Linked DNA regions of Homo sapiens: all the other regions are linked to region 2. Evidence: promoter capture Hi-C in human tissues and cell types (Jung and others, 2019). All regions are on one chromosome and are shown on one strand. The core of a region is centred on a gene start or on the middle of the fragment in contact, and the rest is flanking DNA. Distances in the headings are between cores, read along the strand shown.

Evidence for each region. Contacts are between HindIII fragments. The study calls those that stand out against the background at their distance.
Region 1: a contact is called between a fragment that was not itself captured here and the fragment with the promoter of ZDHHC21 in region 2, in 3 of the 25 tissues and cell types used here (liver, lymphoblastoid cells and pancreas).
Region 3: a fragment that was not itself captured here is called in contact with the fragment with the promoter of ZDHHC21 in region 2 in 1 of the 25 tissues and cell types used here (adrenal gland).

Annotation. Positions count from the first base shown.
Region 1 is chr9:14,641,164-14,644,724 of GRCh38, reverse strand. All of the region lies in intron 7 of ZDHHC21 (zDHHC palmitoyltransferase 21), which reads left to right. Among named protein-coding and RNA genes, the nearest start is that of ZDHHC21, 50 kb to the left of the region's middle. The HindIII fragment of the contact is 6,948 bases long and covers 1-3,561 here.
Region 2 is chr9:14,692,182-14,695,776 of GRCh38, reverse strand. It overlaps ZDHHC21 (zDHHC palmitoyltransferase 21), which reads left to right and starts at 2,345. Exons shown (of 10, transcript NM_178566.6): 1 at 2,345-2,548. RefSeq lists an enhancer at 1,840-2,340 and silencers at 2,414-2,483, 2,564-2,703. The HindIII fragment of the contact is 8,706 bases long and covers 1-3,595 here.
Region 3 is chr9:14,740,668-14,743,891 of GRCh38, reverse strand. All of the region lies in intron 35 of FREM1 (FRAS1 related extracellular matrix 1), which reads left to right. Among named protein-coding and RNA genes, the nearest start is that of CER1, 20 kb to the right of the region's middle. The HindIII fragment of the contact is 3,947 bases long and covers 1-3,224 here.

The DNA of each region.
Region 1 (3,561 bases), core at 365-2,864, 50 kb after region 2:
CCTAGGAATGAAAGGTGGTTTTTGCACTAGAAAATAAGTCAGTATATTTTATCACATTAACAGATTAGAAAAAAAATTCAAATAGAGCATCTCAGTGTATGAAGACAAAGATAAAATTCAGGATTCATTCAGGTTACACACTCTTAGTAAACTAGAACTTAGGAGAACTTTCATAATCAGATAAATGGTCTTTCTTCCCGACCCCCTTAAAAAAAAAACACACAAAATCAACCAACTATAGCATGCTAAGATGAAATGTTGACTTCTTCCCTCCAGGTTGGAGACAAGGCATTGATGCCCCCACTATCACCATTATTATTCTTAAATATACTACTAGAAATTCTAGCCAGTGCAGTAAGACAAGAGAAAGAAAGAAAAGGTACAACTGCTGAAGGAAATAAAACTGTCATTACACATAGATGATGTAACTGTATAAATGATTTATCTATAGATTCTTTTGGGTTTTTAAGAAAGTATAAAAAATGTGACTATGAAACAATATTTTTAAAAATCTATTTTTATATGCTCACAAACAAACCTTTAGACAATGAAATTAATAGCAAATGCCATTTATAATAGAATCAAAAAACAGGAAATTGCTGAATTAAATCTGACAAAGTGCAAGTCCTTTAGAAGAAACTTAACGAAAGGTAATGGAGAGAATATATTATACGTGAATGTATGCATGAGTATGTGTTGTAACTTGAAAATGTAACTTTAAAATTTTTATGCAAATACAAATTATCTGGAATAATCAAGACGTTCTTGCAAAAGAGTAAGATGGGATGACATGGCCTACCAGGTATTGAGACTTATTACAAAGCCGTAATAACTAAGACATTTGTCACCGTTGCAGGGATAAACAAACCAAGGGAACAAGAGTAGAGAGCCCATGCATGTATGGATACTTGATCTCAGGTCACTGAAGAAATGACAGCTTTTTAGATAAGTCATTCCGGAACAGTTGAATATTCATATACAAAAAGTAAATTCAGATTCCTATCTTTCACTGTGCACAAAAAAATTAAATAATAATTCTATGTGAATTAGTGACCTAAATGTGAAAGGCAAAACTTAACAAAGCTTTTAAAAGGCTTTACAAGATAATATAGGAGAATGCCATTATTACTTCAGCATCAGGAAAGATTTCTTAAATAGGATATAAAAAGCACTAAAGGAAAAGATTGATACATTGGACTACGTAAAATTAAGACTTTAGTTTATAAAAAGGTGCCATCAAGAGAGTGAATAGGGTAGTTTCAGAGCAGGAGAAGATATTTGCAATATGCAGCTGAAACATAGCAATATCCAAAATGTATGAAGAAGGAGTTAGTAACCTTTACCTTTAGGGTAGGGGTGAGGGAGAGCCAGCAATGGGGAAGGAATACACAGGAGGCTCTACTTGGTTTCAGATGTTCTAATTCTTGAGAGGATACTGTTACTTTTCTTCTTCTTCTTTATATATATATATTTTTTTGAGACAGAGTCTCACTCTGTTGCCCAGGCTGGAGTGCAGTGGCACGATCTCGGCTCACTGCAACCTCCACCTGCCAGGTTCACGTGATCCTCCTGCCTCAGCCCCGCCTAGTAGCTGTGATTATAGGCATGCACCACCGTACCCTGCTATTTTATTTTTATTTTTATTTTTTAGTAGAGACGGGGTTTCGCCTGTTGGCCAGGCTAGTCTCGAACTCCTGACCTCAGGTGATCCACCCACCTTGGCCTCCCAAAGTGCTGGGATTACAGGCGTGAGCCACCGTACCCAGCCCAGTGTTACTTTTCTTTAAACTGAACACATGTGTTTTATGAATTTATCTGTATATGAGCACATTTTTTAACAAAAATGGAAGAAATGTAAACAATAAAGAAATACATTTATTGATTATATTAGTTTGCTAGGCCTGTCTTAAGAAAATACAACAAAGTGGGTGGCTTAAACAACAGAAATTCATTTTCTCACATTCTGTAGGCTACAACTCCAAGATCAGGGTGTCAGCAGGTTAGTTTTCTCCTGATGCCTCTGTCTTTGGCTTGCAGATAACCACCTTCTCTCTGTCCCCACATGGTCTTTCCTCCGGGAACATCCATGGTGTCTCTCAGTGTGTCCAAATTTCCTCTTCTTATAAGGGAACCAGTTGGATTGGATTAGTGCCCACCCTAAGGGCCTCATTTTATTTTAGTCACTGCTTTAAAGGCTTTGTCTCCAACTACAGTCATATTCTAAGGTACAGGGGTTAGGGCTTCAACATAGGAATTTTGGGGGACCTAATTGAGCCCATAACACTGATTATGTAGTAAAGATCTCGGATAGCAAATGGGTTCCTGTGATTTGGATAAAAATTTTTAAGCCAATTTTTGGATTCAAAAAGTGTTAAATCTAAAAAAATCTAAGACAGAAGTAAAGATGTACTCTAGAGAACAGTGTTAAGTGACTCAAAATATGGATTTAGTGCTGATGATGTTAATTATGCATGTGTGAACTTGGAATACAGTTGTTTTTTTGAAAATGTAAAAGTGATAAAAAGCAATTTCTAGATTAAAGTTTTTTTACTACTGTATTTTACATAAATACTTTAAATATAAATGTATAACCAAATGAATAAATGTAATATTATAAGTAGATCTTTTAGTCTCATCTCCATCCTTGACATTTATAAATTGTAGTTGGCCAAAAATTATTTTAAAATCTTTTCACTGGGAGTAGAGTGGATGGATTTTATTTGGTCATAGATGGTAATTTTAGTACAGTAAGCTCTGCTATAATGCAATATGTGCATTCCTAAAAATCACCTCACTGTGTAAAACCGTGCATTAAAACCACAGGGCTTACCACTCCGAAACTTTGTCTGTGACACTTAAAAGGATAGGAATATAATAAAAACAACAGCACTCTTTTATATAAATATTACGTGATTAAGAAATACATAAATACTATGATAAACATGGCACTTTACCTTGAGAAAGACCTGAAGTTTTCTTATGGAAGTGAGCATCAGGAGGGTTGCAGAATGTGAATTATTGTGAAGTGATGGAAGGGAGGGTCTGTGAAATTGGAGGGAAAGTTGTAATACTAGTTGTGGGTGGGTGTGGCTCATAGCATGGAAGAGAAACTGAGGTGGCTGGTAGATGTTTGACGGGTGAGTGTGTTTTGTGTATTCCTACATATTTTGGTTCATCTGGGTACAATTTTTTGTGTTCATCTAGGATTTTTTCACAGATAAAAGTATGCATAAGAATGATTGCCATGGTCAAACTTGTTTAATGTATCAATTATGTTAGAACAAATTTGTGTTTTTAAATAGTGTTAATGCAGAATTTACTTAATTTTTTATGTCATCCACAGGCCCATCATTTTGGTTTTATATGTTTTATAGGGATTCTATATTGGGTTCTTTTTACTGAAGTTTTGAAATGATTGCCTAATATTTACCTGCTACATAACGTTTTAAGTGTCTTGCTGAATTCTAAGTTTTTCCAGGCTAATGAATAAGTAATGTGGATGTGGAATCAGATTTTTGCTTGAGTCTGGTGGTGACTCAATATAATACACACAGAAAAGTA
Region 2 (3,595 bases), core at 1,096-3,595:
TATGGTACGATCTATATCGTCTTTCCATAATATACCCAGTAAATAGAAAATCTTTTCAAAAGATTACCTGATGCCACATCTCCCTCACCCCCTTATTGTTACCCAGGTGCCTGAATGTATGGGTTGCAATACAATATAACCAATGATTAGCATGAATGATAGAACCAGATGACTTGACCTTCAGTGTAAGGGATAGGCAGGCCTTTGATTATACTCATGAAATGCCCATGCTAAAAAGGTTCATGTTTTTAAGGATGTTTCTCCTGCCTCTTCTCTCCTATTCCCTTGCTTAAAAATTCTCTGTGGAATTGATTTGGCTGATAAAAGACAGGCTAACTTATTTTAAAAAGGGACTGAAAAATCCATGCACTTCCAATTGTCATGTGCAATCATGGACCTGTCAACTAATTCTTATTTTGGCAGTTTTGAGATCACTTGTCACAAATTATTCCCTCTCACAGGGGTATCTGAAGAGAAAGCAAAATAATATGCAATTCATGTAGCTGGATTCAGGTGGAGGGGATTCTACTTTTAATATGCAATTGGGTAGCTGGATTTGGGTGGGGGGGGGATTTTACATTTAATATGCAATTCTGGTAGCTGGATTCGGGTAGGGAGGAGTCCACATTTAATATGCAATCAGGTAGCTGGATTTGGGTAGAAGGGATTCACATTGAATACGCAATCAGGTAGCTGGATTCCGGTGGGAGGATTCCACATTTCCTCTTCCTTCAAAGTGATTGTTTATATGAAATATCTCCTTCTTTTCAAACAGAGAAAGTTACAAAAATCCTACTACATCAAATGATTTATGAAAAATAAAGGTAATTCTATCAAAAGCAATCGTGACTAGTCTTTCAACCTCGCTATGCATATATCGGGGAGTGTATTTGTTAACCTGAAAGGCAATAAAATCTGCTTATGGGTAAATCAATTCCTACCACTGGGTTCTTTTGGGAATATCTAGTAATCTAGGTCAGTAATTCTAAAACTTGAGTGTGTATTAGGATCACCTAAAAGGCTTGTTACATCACGGATTGCTGGGCTACACCTAAACAGTTTCTACTACAGTAGATCTGGGATGGGGCAAAAGAATATGGATTTCTCACAAGTTGACAGGTGATACCGATGCTGCTGGTCTAGGGATCCCACTTTGATAACCACTGACCAAAGTTTTTAAGGTCACAAGGTGTTTATAATTAGTTCAGAAACCAGGACACAACATGTTTAAAAATCCTTAGCAATACAAGGTAATATGAGGCCCCAAACAGGCAACAATGTGCACTATATAAGGGCAGTGGTGAGAGAACTCTGGTTTGGCAAGATTTCCACTCTCAAATCTGGATAGGGTTAAGATCATCAGAGAGCAGGGCATTCTAGAATGGGGAAATGAACCAAATTAGTTGGAGCTAAGACTGGAGAGGTAGGTAGGGATGTGTCTGTGGAGGGCTTTTAAGCACATCTTATAAGGAATACAGATTTTATACAACAGGTAATATTTCTTCCACCAACACACTGTCTCCTCCTGTGGCACGTGGGCAGAAAGATCTAGCTCCACATTACTGCAAACGGTTTAACCTTCCCCAAATACTGTTCAGCCGGAGTGAGGTGGGAAAGTTAGTAGATCTCTGGTGTTTGGTGAAGATACCAAGTTAGACTGAGAGGTGGATTACTTGCATCGCTGAGTCCAAAAGTTGTCGGCTTTTGCAGGGATGGGAAAGCAGGAAACTTTTGGAGGTCTCCCAAAATATAAGAAAAGATTGTTTGGGTGTGGATTTAGGTTGAGGACAGGAACAGGAAATATCCTGGGATGTCTGAGGCAACCCAATAGAGGGTCTGAAGTGGACGAGACCATGCACTACAGTGCAATGCTTTTCCATCTTTACGGTGCACCCCAGGAGTCACCTGGTGATCTTGCTGAAGTGCATGTACTGATTCAGCAGGCCTGAAATTGTGCATTTCAAAGATTGTGAGTTCCCAGAGGATGCTGATGCTGCAGACCGCGCTTTGAAGCAAGGTACCATGGGACATCCCAGAACACCTGCGGGGAGAGAGGCCTGCTGGCCACATCCCCCGAAGAAAGGATACATGCAATCTTTTAAGCTAAGGCCCCCATCCTGTCTCTCGGGAGAGGTGAGCAGTGAGGATATGGGGACAATGAGAAGGACGGCTCAAGTAGGGCTGGGGAGGGGCAGAGGCGCCCAGGCGCGCCAGGTGCAAGCGCTCTGGAGAGTGCGGTCTGCCTGGGTCCGCGGCTCTGGGGCTGCGGCGCGATTGCAGGAGTTTCGGCCCTCAGCGGCTCCCATCGCGGCTCCCGGGAGCTAAGCGAGACGGCGACGGCGGCAGTCGTCCCTCCCCACGCGGGCGCGCGGGCATGCGGACACCCACTCGGCCGGTCCAGGCCCTCAGGCTCCCGGAAGCGGAAGGGGAGAGCGGCCCGGCCTGGGCGGCGGCGCCGGAGGAGGCGGAGGTGGCGCGGCAGGAGGAGGGGAAAGAGCTGCTGGCGGTCGGGAGAGCGGCGGCAGCGAGAGGCGAGCCAGCGGCGACGGTGAGTGTGCAGGCGCGGGGGCGAAGCGGCCGCCCCCACCCCCATCCCCATCCGCACCCCCACCCCCATCCCCGGCCCCCGCTCCGCTCTGCCGGGCCCGCCCGCCGCTCCTCCGCGCCGGGACGCCCTCACCTGTTCCTGCACGCCCCCTGCACCTGCTCTGTTTGGAACCCGGGGGTTTCTCGGTGCCTCCCCGCCCCAGGCCTGGCCTTTTTCAGAGCGTCTTCTGCTAGAGCTACAGCCCCTTGCTAAGTGCTCCTCCCTCAACTGGGGGTGGGGGGTTCCTGCTCTAGTCGAGACGATGTTGGCTAGTTATTTATTTATTTATTTTAAATCTGTATCCTGAGTTTCTCGCTTGTAAACTACAGTTTCTCTCCCCGCACCCCCGTCTGGAGACCTGCACTGGGATCCCGGGTTTCTCTGTGCTATTCCAGAGCTTTTCATTCATTCCAGACTTCTGGTGTGAAGCTGCAGAGAGGACAAACAGTTTGCTCCTTTATTGACCTTCTCACTCCTCTCCTCTTGATCCAAAGAGGTTTTCGGAAAATGGCTTATGGATGGCAGCAGTTTGCACTTGTTACTGTTCACTGTAACAGGTCGCTGGATTGTAACTGCAGAGTCCATTTAAGTTACGGTCTTTTTCAAGCTATATGTGGGTCACATTTTAAGATCCCTTGAGAGTCAGGGTGGATGTCTGTATCACCAGGGCTGAGAGGACATGACCAATTATTACTTTAAAATATTGCAATATAGCAGTCTCTAAAAGTAGAAGAGAAAAAAAAATCAAGGTCATTGTGGGCGGGTCATAAATTATATTGTAAAGTTACAGTCCAAAGGCGACTAAGGATAATTAAGTGCAATTTAAAAAGATGTGTTAAATAGGTCCTCAGCCTACTATGCTAATATATGCACTTTTAAAAATTCACTGCTTTCCTTGTGGTAAGAATAATATTAATAACAGTCACCATTTGATGACTGCTTAGTATGCGCCATTCCTGGATTAAAAGGCTTTTGGTGTAATATTAAATTCTTCCAACTCTTTAGATT
Region 3 (3,224 bases), core at 458-2,957, 49 kb before region 2:
GGTCTTTTTTTCTCCTTGAGGAAAGGGCTTTGATGTTGATCAAAAGCTATCTAAACTAGCAAGAAGATGATTGCAGTATGCAACAAAAGGGAGAATACTATGGTGTCTCTGCTTACAAAATTAAGGGAAAGAGTAGTTATACTCCAGCCAAAGTTATCAAGGTTAGGTGATTGCTGGGATTTGTTGATAAAATGTAGATGAACAGAACTTCCCACCTTGAAGTTTAGAAGCTATCTTTTGTTCATCTTCCAATGGTTCTTAAAGGCCAATGCAAGTAACTGGTCTATAATGAAGCTTTCATTGGTTCTTAATGTATGAGAAAAATAAGGACAGTAAGTATTGAGAAATATCTTTCCATTCAGTCATGGATGGTGGTGTCACATTGCCAAGTGTGTTTTTTTAAAGGACTGTTCTTTATTACGAGATTATAATAGTCTAGCTTTTTATTGTCAAAAACTACTTTTTATGAAATAATAGCAACTTATAACATTGTCGATGCCCTCATGTTGACAAACCTACATCAGTCTCCCATCATCTTTTGTTTTCATTTTATTGTTCCATCTATTAATAATTGTGACTAGGTTCTATTGGTGAGTAGCAATGAGTTCTTCACGTATCTATGAATACTGTACCATTCGATCATCACAATAATAAACTTAAGGCCTAAATTAATTTAAAAGCATAGATACTTTCTCATGCACTTAATCTAAGATTTCATCTGCAGCTTGGTTTTAAGCACCTTCACCCATGACCCTTTTATATTAGCCTGACTGTAGTTCTACATGCCTCCTTGTCAATAATGTCTTACTTTTATATTTATAGTATATGAAATTGTTTCACATGCATTAGCTTATTGGATCCTTCCATCACTTCTCTTATCTACAGTTTATGGATTTATTTTAAAAAGAGGTTCAAGGAAGCGAAATCACTTGCTCACAGGTATACAAGGAAGTAAATGAAAGAGATAGAATTTAGTTTTTCATCCTTATACTCTCTAAAACAGGTCCCCTAAGTATAGCAGGTTTCTCATCATAGGTGTACTGACAAGTATGTCTATTTTAACTATGTTTTGAGGTAACCCAAAGTAGATTTTCAAAATTATGTGTTAATAATTGTTTTTCTCTCACTGCAAACACATATAAGATTTTTATTAAATTATGGATCCTAAGTTTCCTCTGGATTTGAATCAAACTAACCTTTCAAGGCGAACCTAAGGTATGATCAAATTCCTAGTTTATAGATACATTCATTTAACAAATATTTCTGAAAGTCCTTTACAGAGGGTCATTCACAACACCCATATTTCCACAAGGACAGCAAATTTTGCTTTATCCTTTGTCCCTAACCAGATTGCTAACTCAACTTAATCTTTATCTCTAGTCTTCTTTCCTCCCCAGTGGTGTTTTATTATTTTTCTAAGTCAAAGGAGCCAGACTCCTAGATTATGCACTTCTTGAATTTACATGTTGTAATCTCATCTGCTCATTTCCTCAGGCAGTCATTGTACATTTGGTAATTATATTATTATAGAGCATTATCTATGAAGCCATTTTGTTTTCCCGCAGGAGTGTCTGGAACCCCTGCTGGCCTATCCTTAGAGTTACCCTGAAGTCTACCTATACTTAATCAAAAATTTTCAGAGAAGTAGATGTTTATTTCTATAGCCAGAAAAATTAAAGCTTCTGTTTCTAATTCTATACTACAAATATTTGTGTATGTGTACCTATTTATAATTTTATATCCATATATACACCTATACAGATAATACCCACCACATTTTATATGTATGTGAGCATAAAATAAAAGGAGTGATATTTTTCTAAAATAATAAACATATGAATACCTAAATGTTTCTTTTGCGAATAACTATGCTCTTAACATTTTACCTGTCTTGAAGCAGAGCTATCTTCCCATCTCACTCTTTTGGAACTTCTTGCTTTCTGGAGAGTCAAAAAGAAAACCGAAATTGTACTTGGGCAGCTAAAATGGATTTTACCAAGTTTGTTTTAAAGATAGCTTCAGGAATCTTCAAGCTAGAGAAGATGTTAAATATCCTTGAATAAAACCCATTATATCCTGATGCTGAAGTTGAGGCTGCAAAGTTAGGGAATTTCAGTAAGCAAATTAGTTCAATAAGAGAATTAGGGAATTCAGTCAGGGAATTAAGGGGTAATCAGGAAGTAGAATCCTAGTCTCTCATGCTCTGTACAAAATGTCATAGTGACTGGGACAGTCCCTCAAGCCCTCCCTCAGCTTATATTTAACCCAAGTTTCATATTGTGTGTTCTAAGCCTACAGCGCTTTAGAGTGAGCGTGTTGGATGTGTTGGGGAGGGGAGGAGAGGAGATGCCTCATCATACCTGCTGTAACTGTCAGACAGGAGCTGAGAGTCAATAATGAGGTCAGAGCCAAGTCACAAAACCCAATCCAGCGGTCTAAGGCCATTCAGTGGAGGGGCAAAGAGCCTTATATATCTAAGAAGGCCTAGAAATCATCATTGCATCAGACAGCAGCAAAATACTGTTATTAGTAGAGGGAAATCCTTTAAAAATAGACAAATTATGTTCACCATATCTAGTCTGGAAAAGCAGAGAAATAGATCTGAATTTTGAAAAGACATAGGCAAAATAAATAAAATTAAATTTAACAGCTATCTGCCCGAATGTGTTGCTAATTTTGTTTCCTACTTTTCTTTTCATATCAATGGATATTAACCAGGCAAAAAGATCATGGTGATTTAATTTTTTTCCTTGTTTGATTTTTTAAGTGTTTAAAATTATTTTTTAAAATTTAATTTTATGTTTAATTGACAAATAATACAAATTACATTGTAGGGTACAATGTAATGTTATGATACATGTATACATGATATATTTGTTTCTTGTTTGAAACTTTCTGTTTTTTTTATTTTTAAAGAAGAAAGAATTACTTAGTGGCTTCTTACTTAAAGCATTTTTAAAGAGGTTTTAATGAGCACTGCTGGGGAATTAGGCACAATCAAATATCGCTTCTAGGAATAACTCAGTTAGCTGCAAAAATAATTTATAAAAAATTCTGTTTTGTGAAAAATATTTTACATATGTTTGTAAAAACAAGCACTTTAATTTCTGTGCATTATATGAAGGTTTGACAGTTGGGGCTATACTCATTTCATTGAGTATAATGAAGTCATAATAATGTGTTTATTTGGCTAAACCCACTAAGCTCCAAATTTAAACCTGAAG